Regions from separate parts of the Homo sapiens genome. Here regions 2, 3, 4 and 5 are each linked to region 1. The links are contacts of gene promoters, found by promoter capture Hi-C in blood cells and fetal thymus (Javierre and others, 2016). All regions are on one chromosome and are shown on one strand. The core of a region is centred on a gene start or on the middle of the fragment in contact, and the rest is flanking DNA. Distances in the headings are between cores, read along the strand shown.

The links. Contacts are between HindIII fragments. The CHiCAGO score rates a contact against its expected background, and 5 or more counts as called.
Region 2: a fragment that was not itself captured here is called in contact with the fragment with the promoter of ERCC6L in region 1 in 3 of 17 cell types (total CD4 T cells, fetal thymus and non-activated CD4 T cells); the score reaches 17.2 in total CD4 T cells.
Region 3: a contact is called between a fragment that was not itself captured here and the fragment with the promoter of ERCC6L in region 1, in 2 of 17 cell types (naive CD8 T cells and total B cells). The highest score is 6.3, in naive CD8 T cells.
Region 4: a fragment that was not itself captured here is called in contact with the fragment with the promoter of ERCC6L in region 1 in 1 of 17 cell types (naive B cells); the score reaches 6.1 in naive B cells.
Region 5: the fragment with the promoter of CHIC1 here is called in contact with the fragment with the promoter of ERCC6L in region 1 in 5 of 17 cell types (activated CD4 T cells, total B cells, total CD8 T cells and 2 more); the score reaches 7.6 in activated CD4 T cells.

Annotation. Positions count from the first base shown.
Region 1 is chrX:72,237,699-72,240,426 of GRCh38, forward strand. It overlaps ERCC6L (ERCC excision repair 6 like, spindle assembly checkpoint helicase), which reads right to left and starts at 1,329. Exons shown (of 2, transcript NM_017669.4): 1 at 1,146-1,329. The coding sequence starts at 1,213. It also overlaps a transcript of PIN4 not described here. RefSeq lists an enhancer at 1,111-1,260. The HindIII fragment of the contact is 5,695 bases long and covers 1-2,728 here.
Region 2 is chrX:74,129,796-74,132,523 of GRCh38, forward strand. The region is part of intron 5 of FTX (FTX transcript, XIST regulator); the gene reads right to left. It also overlaps the pseudogene DDX3P1. Among named protein-coding and RNA genes, the nearest start is that of MIR421, 87 kb to the right of the region's middle. The HindIII fragment of the contact is 973 bases long and covers 923-1,895 here.
Region 3 is chrX:74,020,160-74,022,887 of GRCh38, forward strand. All of the region lies in intron 3 of JPX (JPX transcript, XIST activator), which reads left to right. Among named protein-coding and RNA genes, the nearest start is that of JPX, 77 kb to the left of the region's middle. The HindIII fragment of the contact is 3,239 bases long and covers 1-2,728 here.
Region 4 is chrX:73,990,968-73,993,695 of GRCh38, forward strand. The region is part of intron 2 of JPX (JPX transcript, XIST activator); the gene reads left to right. Among named protein-coding and RNA genes, the nearest start is that of JPX, 48 kb to the left of the region's middle. The HindIII fragment of the contact is 171 bases long and covers 1,329-1,499 here.
Region 5 is chrX:73,561,867-73,564,594 of GRCh38, forward strand. CHIC1 (cysteine rich hydrophobic domain 1) reads left to right here and starts at 1,331. Exons shown (of 6, transcript NM_001039840.4): 1 at 1,331-1,714. The coding sequence starts at 1,419. It also overlaps the pseudogene MAP2K4P1. RefSeq lists a silencer at 1,251-1,310. The HindIII fragment of the contact is 6,151 bases long and covers 1-2,425 here.

The DNA.
Region 1 (2,728 bases), core at 79-2,578:
GTTGCAGTGAGCTGAGTTAGAGATCGCGCCACTGCACTCCAGCCTGGGTGACAGAGCCAGACCCTGTCTCTAAAAATATATATAAAACAACAATAGTAAAATAATAAATTGGCTGGACATGGTGGCACCCACCTTAAGTCCCAGCTACTAGGGAGGCTGGGGCAGGAGGACTGCTTGAGCCCAGGAGTTCGAGGCTGCAGTGAACTATGATCAGGCCACTGAATTCCAGTCTGGGCGACACAGCAAGACCCTGTCTCAAAAAAAATTAAAGCAGTAAAATTCACAGAGACAGAATAATGGTTGCTAGGGGCTGAAGGGAGGGGGAAATGGGGAGTTTGTTTAATGGGAGTAGTTTCAGTTTTGCCACATGAGAAAAGTTCTGGAGATGACGGACGGCTGCACAACAATATGAATGTAGTCAACACTACTGAACTGTACATTTAAAAATGGTTAGGATGATAAACTTTATTTTTCATAAAACCCAGTTTCTGCACAAAAAGATAAAATTTATGTTATGTGTACTTTACCACAATTTAAGAAAAAATTTAAATTCTCATCCCAACATTACCACGCCCCCCACCCTTAGCCAACTGGTGAATGTTTACTCATTTTTCAACGCCTAGCTCAAATGTCTCCTCTTGCCACGCCATCCCTTAGCTGACCACCCTTGTAGTTGGCCATTCCCTCTTTTATGCCAACACTGTGCCCTGCACGTACATTATACCTCTTACAGCACTTATCAAACCTAGTAATTATTGCTTTACAGATCCGTTTCCACTACTAGATTACAAACAATTTGGGGGCGGGGACCTTGTTTTACTCATCTCTGTATCCCCTAGACTTAGGGCTTGATAAGCTGAAAAGAATCAAGAAGGGCTTGATTAATTAAGGCTCCTCTGGCTTTTAAGGAGACCATACTGGAGGGTCATTTGCCCAAAAGAAGAGGCATCGGGGTCTCCTCAGGTTTTAGAAATCTGGTCAAACATCCAGAGCTGACTCCCACACCCTACTGCGAGAAGAGCGCGAGCGCGCGTCTCAAAAGGCTCCGCCTCAACAGTTCGGGTCCCCAGGAGGATCCGGGGGCCACCCCACCTCCACCCTGGGCCAGGTCGGTTAGCTAGACCCGCCCAGCGGTCCAGACATACCTTAGGTAATGAGCAGCCTGCTCTGGGCTCAAGGCCTCGGCTTCCGGAAACCTTCGGGATGCCTCCATGACCCTCGGATTGGGTTCCAGTTACCCCGGCGGGAGTTTGGAGCTTGGAGCTTGGAGCTTGGAGCTTGGAGCTTAGAGTTTGGAGCTTGAATTTCGCTCACTCCCGCCCCGCGCATGCTCTGTGCGCCGTGGAGAGGGACACAGCCAACCGACGGCCTCGCGGCCGGCCAATCCGCGACCACGCGCTGCGACGCCTCCGCCTGAGCCCCGCCCATGACGGTGGGCGCCTGCGCCTACGCGCGCCGGGAAGCAGAAGGTGATCTCTGCCTTCGAGACACGGAGTGTGCTGCCTCAGTCTGTGATCCCTCGCGTTTCAATCCAATTCAAACCATGCTGCAGCCAATTCGTTCGCGCGTGCGTGTGCCATCATTGTGAGTGGAGGAGACTGCCCGATATGATCCCAGTCATTGCGGCGACCCCTGGAGATCTCCAACGCCTGCGTCCCCCAACCATACCCTGCCCCGCATCCACAGATATCTTCCCTTCCTTGATCGCCAGTACCTGGCACTGACCGTGCTTTGAATTCAAACACCCTGGGAGGCATAGTCCCTGTGATTTAAACTAACATTGAAGAAGCGACCAGACGCGGTGGTTCACGCCTGTAATCCCAGCACTTTGGGAGACCGGGGCGGGCGGATCACGTGAGGTCAGGAGTTCGAGACCAACCTGGCTAAAATGGTGACACCCCGTCTCTACTAAAAATACAAAAAATTAGCCGGGCGTGGTGGCGGGCGCCCGCAGTCCCAGCTACTCGGGTGGCTGAGGCACGAGAATCGCTTGGACCCAGGAGGTGGAGGTTGCAGTGAGCCGGGATTGCACCACTGCACTCCAGCCTGGGTGGCAAAGCGAGACTCCATCTCAAAAAAAAAAAAAAAAAAAAAAAAGGCTGGGTGCAGTGCCTCACGCCTGTTATCCTAGCCTTTTGGGAGGCTAAGGTGGGAGGATCACTTGCACTTAGGAGTTCGAGACCAGCCTGGGCAACATGGTGAGACTCCCGTCTCTTTAAAAAAAATTTTTTTCTTCTCCACAGGGCGTTATGCTGTATTTATTTTCTTAAAAAGAGAGAGAGAAAGAGAGAAGGGTCTTCAAGAATCTCAAACCCTGGAGGTGGAGGCTGCAGTGAGCCAAGATCATGCCACTGCACTCCAGCCTGGGTGACAGAGAAAGACTCCATCTCAAAAAAAAAAAAAAAATTAAAGTTCTTATTTAAGAAATAAGTAACTAGGTTCACATACTTGGTATAATAAAAGGAAGACAAAAATAATTTAAAAAAAAAGAAGTAGTGCTGTGGTCATCATTTCTTCAGAAGCACCAACTAAGATACAGTCATTTTCAAATGCAGAGCCTAAAAAGAAGGCAGAGCCTAGAGCTTAAGGAAATGTGATTGAGTTTAAGTGGCTTGCTTGGGTGACACTAAATAGGAGGTTGTGGGCCAACAAAAATTGTCCTTGTTCATATACTGTTAAGAACACAGACATGACTCCTCAAGACACTAATTTAGCATTCAGTATTGGA
Region 2 (2,728 bases), core at 159-2,658, 1.9 Mb after region 1:
TAATTGACCTGCCACCAAGAGAATGTGGGTGAATGATCAAGACAGGTGTCCCCACGGTGATCAGACACCAAGGGAAGACTGTCTTCCCAAGTCCGTGACCAACATCGGAGTTTTTGAATGCACAGATAAAGTGTGTCTCCTTTTTGTCTCTACCAGGAAGGGAGAGAAACTGAAATTGAAAGGAGAGAGATTGAAGGGAGGCAATAGAGGTTAGGTAGAGAGCAAAAACACTGCTTACCCGAGTGCAAATAACTGCTTACCGATTTGAAATTGGTGAAATGGTCCTTGGGCTGGCTGGTCTGATGACCTGAGGTCGTAGGTGGATCTCCTCACAGAGGTAGCATGAGGACAGGGGACCAGTCTCCTGAAGGAGTTCCCCTGTCCCGGGTCTTCAGCACCAAATACTATGTGTGTCCGTATAAGAGACCACCTGAGCAGGCTTAGTGTAAGCAACAAGGCTGTTTATTCACTTGGGTGCAAGTGGGCTGAATCCAAGAAAGGAGTCAGCAAAGGGTGGTGGGATTATCATTTATTCTTATAGGTTTGGGATAGGCAGTGGAGTCAGAAGCAATTTTTTGCAGGCAGGGGATGGATGTTACAAATACATTAACAAGGGCGGGGAGGGTGTATTGTCACAAGGGCGGGGAATGTTACAAACTACCTTCACAAGGATGGGGAATATCACAAAGTACATTATCACAAGGGCGGGGGAATGTCACGATGGCTTGACCATGGTGCGGCCAGCTCAGAGGACCTTACAGAGCTTACTTACTATACTCATCCTACTCCACTGCAAAACATGCCATTCCTATTATTAGGGGAAAAAAAGAGACTTAATGTCTTGTGCCCAAGCAGGGTCTGGGAAAACTGCAGCATTTCTTTTACCCGTACTGAGTCAGATATATATAGATGGTCCAGGAAAAGCTTTGAAGGCTGTGAAGGAAAATGGAAGGTATGGATGCCATGAACAATACTCAATCTCCTGGGTTTTAGCCCCAACAAGAGAATTGGCTGTACAGATATGAGGAAGTCAGAAAATTTTCATACCAGCCTAGAGTTCATCCTTGTGTAGTTTATGGTGATGCTGATATTGGTCAGCAAATTCAGGTCTTAGAACATGGATGCCACTTGTTAGTAGCCACGCCAGGAGGTCTAGTGGATTTGATGGAAAGAGGAAAGATTGGATTAGACTTCTGCAAATACTTAGTGTTGGATGAAGCTGATAGGATGCTGGATATGGGATTTGGACCTCAGATACATCTTATACTTGAACAAGATACTATGCCACTGAAGGGCATTCATCACATCATGATGTTTAGTGCTACTTTTCCTAACGAAATACAGATGCTTGCTCGTGACTTTTTGGATGAATATATCTTTTTGGCTGTAGGAAGAGTAGGCTCTACCTCTGAGACTATCACACAGGAAGTAGTTTGGGTGGAAGAGCCAGATAAACGGTCATTTCTGCTTGATCTCTTAAATGCACCAGGGAAGGATTCACTGACTTTAGTGTTTGTGGAGACCAAAAAGGGAGAAGATTCTCTGGAGAATTTCTTATACCATGAAGTATATCCTTGTACTAGTATTCATGGAGACCAATCACAGAGAGATCGAGAAGGAGGCCCTTCATCAGTTTTGCTTGGGGAAAATCCCAATTCTAGTGGCTACAGCTGTGGCAGCATGAAGACTAGACATTTCAAATGTGAAACATGCTTCAATTTTGATTTGCCAAGTGATATTGAAGAATATGTGCCTTGTATTGGCTGTACAGGATGTGTGGGAATCCAGGGTCTTGCCACCTCATTCTTTAATTAAAGAAATATGAATATTACAAAGGATTTGTTGGATATTCTTATAGAAGCTAAACAAGAAGTGCCTGCTTGGTTGGAAAATAAAGCTTATAAACACCACTACAAGGGTGGTATTCATGCATGATCTAAAAGATTCAGTGGAGGATTTGGTGCCAGAGACTATTGACAAAGTAGTGGTTCCAGCAGTTCTGGCTTCAGTAGTAGTCATACAAGCAGCAGCTGCAGTGGTGGAGGTGGTCATGGCAGCAGCAGCAGATGTGGTGGAGGTAGCTATGGAGGCTTCTACAACAGTGATGGATGTGGAGGAAATTATAATTCTTGTTATAAGAGTTATTAAGAGCTGGGCGCGGTGGCTCACACCTGTAATCCCAGCACTTTGGGAGGCTGAGGCAGGCGGATCACGAGGTCAGGAGTTCGAGACCAGTCTGGCCAACATAGTGAAACCCCATCTCTACTAAAAATACACAAAAAATTAGCCAGGCGTGGTGTTGTGCACCTGTAATCCCAGCTATTTGGGAGGCTGAGGCAGGAGAATCACGTGAACCCAGGAGGCGGAGGTTGCAGTGAGCCGAGATCGTGCCACTGCACTCCAGCCTGGGTGACAGAACAAGACTCTGTCTCAAAAAAAAAAAAAAAAAAAAAAAAAGAAAGAGTTATTAAGAAATTATTTTAAGCAGATAAGAAAAGGGGTCCTTGGGAAGTTCTTTTTTTTCTTTTAGAGCAACTCCAGAAACATTTCTTGTCTAGCAGGAAAGCTAGGCCAGCAAGCTTTGATATGCAAATACCGGCCATTAGAAACTGGGCCCACCCAAACATGGCAATTCCTGCAGTCTTATTCTTGCCCTGGCCTCCACATGTGCCTGGCAACACGGCCACCCCCACATATCCACACATGTGTAAAATATCATGGTGCCCTG
Region 3 (2,728 bases), core at 95-2,594, 1.8 Mb after region 1:
ATAAATGATAAAAAGAGGCAAGTTGGATAAAAAAGACCGAACTGTATGCTGTCTTCCTGAAACCCATTTCAGAAGTAATGGCACCCATTGACTCAAGGTAAAGGGATGGAGAAAATTCTACCAAGCAAACAGAAAAAAGGAGGAGGGACAGATTGCTATTCTAACTTCATAGAAAATAGACTTTAAAACAGCAATTGTCAATAAGGACAGAGAAAGATATAATCATGAAGAGTTCAACTCAACAAGAGCTAACTATATATGCACTGAACACAGGATCATGCGCGTTCATAAAAGAAGTTCCTACAGACCTATGAAGAGACTTAGATAAGCAGACAATAAGAGTGGGAAACTTCACTACCCCATTGACACTATTAGATCACTGAGGCTGAAAGCTAAGAGATATTTTAGTCCTGTACTTGACACTTGACCAAATGGACCTATCAGACATCCATATTAATGTCCACCCAAAACCACCAAGTACACATTCTTCTCATCTGCACATGGCACATACTCTATAGTTGACTACACAGTGGGCCATAAAACAATCCTCACCAAATTCAAATAACAGCAAAATCATACTAAACAGATCTTTGGACCAGAGCACAATAAAAATAGAAATCAACACGAAGATTACTCAACACTATACAATTACATGGAAATTAAGCAACTTGATCCTTAATTATGTTGGCATAAATAATGAAGTTAAAGCAGAAATGGACAAGTTCAATATCTCAATTTAACAAGCTAATATAACAAACAGAGGAATTAGAAAACGAGTACACTAATTCCAAAGCTAGCAGCAGACAAGAAATAACTAACCAGTTTTGAAATTGAATCAGTAATAAAAACCCTACCAACCCTACCTGGACCTGATGGATTTATGGCTGAATACAACCAGATATGTAAGAAAGAGCTGGTGAAATTCCTAGTTAAGCTATTCCAAAATATCAAGGAGGAAGGACTCCTCCCTTAATCATTTTATGAAGCCAGCATGATCCTGATACCAAAACTTGGCAGAGACACAACACAAACTTGAGACAAATATCCTTGATGAACTTAAAAGGAAAAATTCTCAAGAAAATACCAGCAAACCTAATCCACTTGCATATCAGAAAGCAAATTCCCCATGATTAAGGAGGCTATATTTGTGTGATGCAAGGTTGGTACAACATACAGAACTTACGAAAAAAATGTGATTTATCACATAAGCAGAGCTAAAACCATGTTCATCTCTATAGATGCAGAAACTATTTATTTAACATTACTTCATGTTATGAACCCTCAACAAATTAGGCATTGAAGAAACATATCTCAAAATAATGACCCATCTGTTACAAACTCACAGCCAACCTCATAATCAACTGGCAAAAGTTGGAAGCATTCCTTTTATGACCAGAGCAAGTCAAGGATGCTCAGTGTCACCACACCTATTCAACATACTACTGGAAGTTCTAGCTAGAGCAATCAGTTAATAGAAAAGGCATCCAAATAGGAAAAGAAGTAAAACTATCTCTGCAGACAACATGATTTTATACATAGAAAACCTCAAAGCCCCAAAGCTCCTAGATTAGATACAAAACTTCAACAAAGTTTCAGTATAAAAAGTCAGTCTGTAACTTAGCATTTCTATACAGCACCAACATCAAAGCTCAGAATTGAATCAGGAAGGCAAACCCATTCACAATAGCCACAAAAAGCATAAATCACCCAGGAACACATTTAACCAGGAAGGTGAAAGATCACTATAAGGAGAATTACAAAACACTACTGAAGGAAATCATAGATGACACAAATAGGAAGAAATGACATTGTTAAAATGGCCATAATCCCCAAAGCAATTTATACATTAATTGCTATTCAAACTACCAATGACATTCTTTGCAGAATTAATACAACCTTTAAAAATTCATATGGAGTGAAAAAGTCCTAATAGCCAAGGCAATTCTAGACAAAAAACAAACTTGGAAGCATAACATTACCTGAATTTGAAAGTATTCTACAAGATTACAGTAACCATAACAGCATGGTACCGGTATAAAAGTAGACATGGAGGCCAATGGAGCAGAATATAGAACACAAAGCTGTACACCAACAGTCATCTGCTTCTCAACAAAGTTGACAAAACAAGCAATGAAGACAGGACTTCCTGTTCAATAAATGGTGCTGGCATAACTGACTACGTATATATTCAAGGTTGACACTGGACCGCTTCCTTACATTACATATAATGACTCAATATAGATTAAGGGCTTAAATGTAAAATATAATACCATAAAAATGCTAAAATATAACTTAGGAAATACCATGCTGAACATAGGTTCTGAAAAATATTTATGATGAAGACTCCAAATGCAATTACAGCAAAAACAAAAATTGACAAATAGAACCTAGTTAAACTATAGAGATTCTGCACAGCAAGAGAATCTATCAATGGTGAACACAATGTACAGAATGGGAGAAATATCTGCAAATTATGCATCTGACAAAGTTCTAATATCCAGAATTTATAAGCTACTTAAATTCATGGGGAGAAAACCACATTGAAAATATGAAAAAGTACATAGACATTTTTTCAAAGGAAGACATGCATACAGCTAGGAGTCATATGACAAAATGCTGAACATCACTAATCTATAGAGAAATGCTAATTAAAACCACAATGCAATTCTGTCTTACACCAACCAGAATGGCTGTTACTAAAAAGTCAAAAATAGTACGTTGTCGAATC
Region 4 (2,728 bases), core at 164-2,663, 1.8 Mb after region 1:
CCCGAGTAGCTGGTATTACAGGTGCATGCTACCACGCCTGGCTAATTTTTGTATTTTTAGTAGAGACAGGGTTTCACCATGTTGGCCAGGCTGGTCTCAAACTCCAGACCTCAGGTGATCCTCCCACTTCAGCCTCCCAAAGTGCTGGGATTACAGATGTGAGCCACCATGCCCAGCTGGTAAATTTAAAATGATTGAAATTTATATATGTTCTGTCACCACAATGGAAGTAAAATTAAAATAGAAATTATTAAAATATCTAGGAATGATCCAAATATTTGGAAATTAGACAACACAAGTTTAAATGATCATGAGTCAAAGGGAAATCACAATTAGAAGACATTTTTAATCGAATGGTAATGATAATATAATGTCAAAATTCATGGAATGTAGCTAAAGCAGTGCTTGGAGGGCAAATTATAGTTTAAATGCTTTTATTATAAAGGAAGAAAAGTCTAAATGTCAGTAACCAAAGTTTCTACCTTAGGAAGCTAGAACAAGAACAGCAAAGTAAACCTGGAGTAAGTACAAGTAAGGAAACAATAGAGTAGGAATCAATGATGTGGAAAACAGATAATAGAGAAACTTTAAAAAGCCAAAATCTGGTTCTTTGGTAAGATCAACAACAGTAATAAACCCTTATCTTCAGTGAACAAGAAATTGACAATGCGACATGTTGTAATAGTAAAGGAATAAAGTACATAGTGTGGAACACAGAGGCTGATCTGAATTTGGTTTTCAAAGGTGGTTTCAGAGAGGTGGTAAAATTTGTGTTTGGCTTTCAAGAATTAGTGTAAGTTTTTCCTGATACAGATTGGGAAAAAGAATATTCTGAGAGGAAATAAGAGCAAAATAATTTTATTTTTCAGGCTTTTGGCATATTTAGAACCGTATTTTTATTTTTTTGAGACAGAGTCTTGCTGGAGTCCATCGGTGCAATCTCGGCTCACTGTAACCTCTGCCTACTGGTTCAAGCAGTTCTGGTGCCTGAGCCTCCCAAGTAGCTGGGATTACAGGCATGTGCCACCACTAGCCCCAGCTAATTTTTAAATTTTTAGTAGAGATGGATTTCTTCATGTTGGCCAGGCTGGTCTCGAACTCCAAGTCTCAAGTGATCCACACGCCTTGGCCCCCCAAAGTGCTAGGATTACTGGCGCGACCCCACAGCACCTGGCCTAGAATGGTATATTGACTTTATCTGTGGCATATGGGTTATGTTAGGTGGAGAGCAGTAGGTGATGCAATAGGAAAAGCAGTTTGAGTCTAGAGTGTACAGAACCTAGAGTACCTTCCTTGATAACTTGGACTTTATTCTGTGTAAAATAGCAAGCTTAGCGTCTAAAGTTTTTAAAGGAGTTTTTTAAATGAAATATTTCAAACAGAAAATACATAGAATGACATACTGAACACTTATTACCGCTACCCTGCTTTAACAAATCTTATACCTTACTATATTTGTTTCAGATTTTAAGAAATTAATACATCATAGATACAATTGAAGCTTTGTACCTTTCCATCTCATACCACCATGAAGTTCTATTCTGAAGTCATATATCCTTACCATGCATTTTTAAAATACTTTTACTGTATAGCTATATACTAATAAAAAGGTGGCATTCTCCATGTTATTAAAGTTTCTTAAAAATGCTATCTATATTTTACTTATTCTGCAACTTGTTTTTCTCACTTATTATTATTTTTGACTTATGGGATATTCCGGAAGTTTGGACTGGTGTAACCACAGTAGTTATTTACGGCCAGTGTCCTTTCTTCTTTCTTTTTTGAGTTAACCAGGATACATTTATTAAATATATCCAGGATAAATATTCCCAAAAACAAATATTTGGTAAATATGGCAAACTTATTCTTTGGCAAATTAGCTTTTAGCATGTTGGACTGCTTTCCATCCCTATTAGGAGTATTATAAGGATTAAATGAAGTATTACCAACAAAAAGGTACTTAGCAAAATTCTCAGTAAACATTGGTTATAATCCCTCCAACATTCAGACTTAAGTTCTGCCTATTCTCTTTCCTCAGTATTCTTTATTCCTGTCCATATAACCATTGTCCTTTTGTAGGCCTTCACTACCTTAATGTGGACTATAGCAATAGTCACTTGATTGGTCTCTTGGCTTGTTCCCCTCCAATCTTGTTCTCTACACTACTGCAAGGGTGATCTGTCTACCACATAGATTTTGAATTATCATCTACAGTAGTAAAACAGTTTTCATGGCATACAAGCTTCAATAATTTAGTCTAGATATTCCGCTTGATCTCTTTTCACCTCTTTTCCATTTATCTTCTAGCACCACTGCAGTGCTTGTAGTTCCTTAAATATGCTATTCTTTTTGAAAAAGCAGCAAATCTCTGTGCAGTTGCCTTTCTAACTGGAATATCTTCCCCCTTCTTGTGTTCTCACAAAATTCTTATTCATCTTTCAAGTTCTAGCTCAAATGCCACTTCCTTGTAAAGGTTTTCCTGATTTCCTTAAGCAGATTTGGGTTACGTTTCTAGGGTTCTGCTGCTCTTTGTACATGCTTCTATTATAATGCTTATATATATTATTGTAGTTGTTTTTTAATTTTGTCTGTCATTCTAATAGACTGTAATCTCCTTGCAGGAGGAGATCTGTCTTTTCATCATTTATATAATAATGACTATTGTACCTAGAATATAAGTCATTGACATTTGTTGAATTAAAAAAATTCAGAAATCTATTTACAGCCC
Region 5 (2,728 bases), core at 81-2,580, 1.3 Mb after region 1:
CAGAGACACACCATCTGATTGGGATGCAGCCGTAGAGTAGCAGAAAGAGCAGTGAAGCTGGTATTAGAATGCCTGGATTACAGTGTTTGTTCTGTTACTTAGCAGCTGTGTGACTTTACTGTCTTAATGATATGGATTTTTGTGCTGCTGCCAAGTATGAAACAGTTTGGCACACTATTTAGATACGCAAAATATGTGATCCCCACAACATTTTAGTGAGTGTAAAGAAGATAGGATAGACCATTTAAAATGGAAAATTTTGAACAAAAGGTCACCATAGACTTGAATAAATTACTTAAACTTCTGAGACCCACTTTTGTCATGTAATAAAATAGATATAATGATACTTACCTCTCAGGATTAAGGGTTAACTGAAATATTGTATGTGAGGGTCTAGCTCAGTGTCTGGAAAATGGATGATGTTAATTAAGGTTTCCTTAGGTTGGAATGCTCCTTTCACCCCCTCCATCCGCCCCCTCCCCCAAAAAACACTCCAAAATTCAAACATGCATATTCTGATTCATCTTTTAAGGAAGAGCCCAAGAGGCACCATTCTACAAAATCTTTCCAAACAACTTCAGGCAGTACAGCCCTTTGGTTAAGAGTACTGGGCTTCTGGAATCAGAAGAGACCACCAAATTTAAAACCAGGTCTCCCATTTAGTAGCTCCCTGACACTGGACAAATTACTTATTTTCTCTGCACCTAGATTTCCCATCTGTAATATAAAATCATCATGATACATACCTCATAGGGTTGCAGAGGATTAAATGAGATATACATACAGAGCACTTAGCACAGTCCCTGAGTTAATAAGTCCTCCGTTAAGTATTACATAGGAGAAGTAGTAAAAAGTTTCCTCTTAAGTAAAATGCTAATAAAAGTGCTTACCCTGCCTCCCAAGATTGTGGCAAAGTTATGACGCAAGGCTTTTAAACTGTAATGCTGAACAAACGTAAGGGATTGGTATATACCTTGAGATATTTTGGACAAAGTTCTAACCTTACTTTTATACAATATGCTTTCTCTCACCCGCCTGCAGTTGGGTTAATAATGCCCAGCATTAATTAATAAGCAATAAAATCAGAAGATACCCCGAATACAAGTAGCTGACGCTCAGAGAGCAGTATTAAGGCGAGCACCCGCAGACCGGACCTGGATAACTCCTTGGAGTTCACCTCTAGCGGCCCCCTCCCCTTGGAGCTGCGCAAGCGTACACTGACTTTGCTCCTCTCTAGTGCCCCCGCCTCCAGCAGCCGCCCCCCCACCCCCCCGTCTGCCCAACACGCAGGCGCGTCTCCTCAAATCCTGTCCCTACACCCCTCCTCTTTCTCTTCATTTCGTTCCCCCTCCTCTTGCAGCACCTCGGCAGGTTCAAACTCTTCTCCGGGAGCGTGGCGGCGATCGCGAGGTCACGTGATGAGCATCCTGCTGCCCAACATGGCGGAGTTCGACACCATCTCGGAACTGGAGGAGGAGGAGGAAGAAGAAGCGGCAACGTCGTCGTCGTCGCCGTCGTCGTCGTCGTCGGTATCTGGGCCCGACGATGACGAGGAGGATGAGGAGGAAGAGGAGGAAGAGGAGGAGGAGGAAGAAGAGGAGGAGGAGGAAGAGGAGGAGGAAGCGCCGCCCCCGCCTCGGGTAGTGAGCGAGGAGCATCTGCGGAGATATGCTCCCGACCCTGTATTAGTGCGGGGTGCCGGCCACATCACTGTGTAAGCGAGAGGGGGTCTTGGGACTTGAAATGCCTGAGATTTGGCAACAGAGGAATGAGAAGTGATCGAGGGGCCTGTGGAGTGGGGGAGGGTTGACTGATTGACTGAGGCGTACACTTAGGAAAGGACACCTGGTCTAAATGGGGAAACCATGGGTGGATACGTGTGAAGGAAGTGAGGAGAATGTAAATATGATGCACCAATGCCAGGTAAAGAGTGAGTATAGGAGAGGGAAGTTAGGGGTTTGGGAGCCAGAGCGATTGGAGTAGGGGTGAGTCTCCTTTCTTGTATGTATGCTGGCAAGTGAACAGTCTCTAAACTGCAGGATGTACCAGAGGGTTTTTTGCTGACAAGATTGATACTTTGTGGGAAACAGCAATTGCTGTGACATGTGACAAGAACTAGGCTTGCATTCTTCAAAACAGAAACATGATATATTTTGTGAATAATAATAGAATGTTCATTCACCCACGTATTCATCCATCCATTCTTCCTATCGAATCCTTCCTTATATATCACTCGATTAGAGGTTCAGGATGAGAGGCAGCTATGGAAAGTAGAAAAAGAAATGGATTGAGTCAGGGCTCTTAGACGCTGGTCCCGGTTTTGCTTCTTACTGGCCCTGTGACCTTGGTCAGGTTGCTTTTTCTCATTTCTGCGCCTTGATTTCTTCATCTCTAAAATGAAGGGTTTGGAGTAGATGGTTTCTAAAGCTTTTCAGTTCTGAGATAATTTACCTCCAAGGGATTTTGTATGCCCAAGTATGAAATATACAGGCATTAAATATATATGGAAATTAATACTTTGGGAGCTGAGCATAATTTCTTTAAAATTTATCCAGGGTGGTTTTTTAAAAAATTGAAATCTTGAGGAAAAATTGAATATTTCAGAAAATAAAATGGGGAGGGACTTCATAACAGCTACAAGGCAAAAATGTTGATGATTCTCCGGGATTTAAAGAGTGCTTCCTCATTTTTATTTGCTTGGACCATAACTATTTGGAAGTTTGAGTAC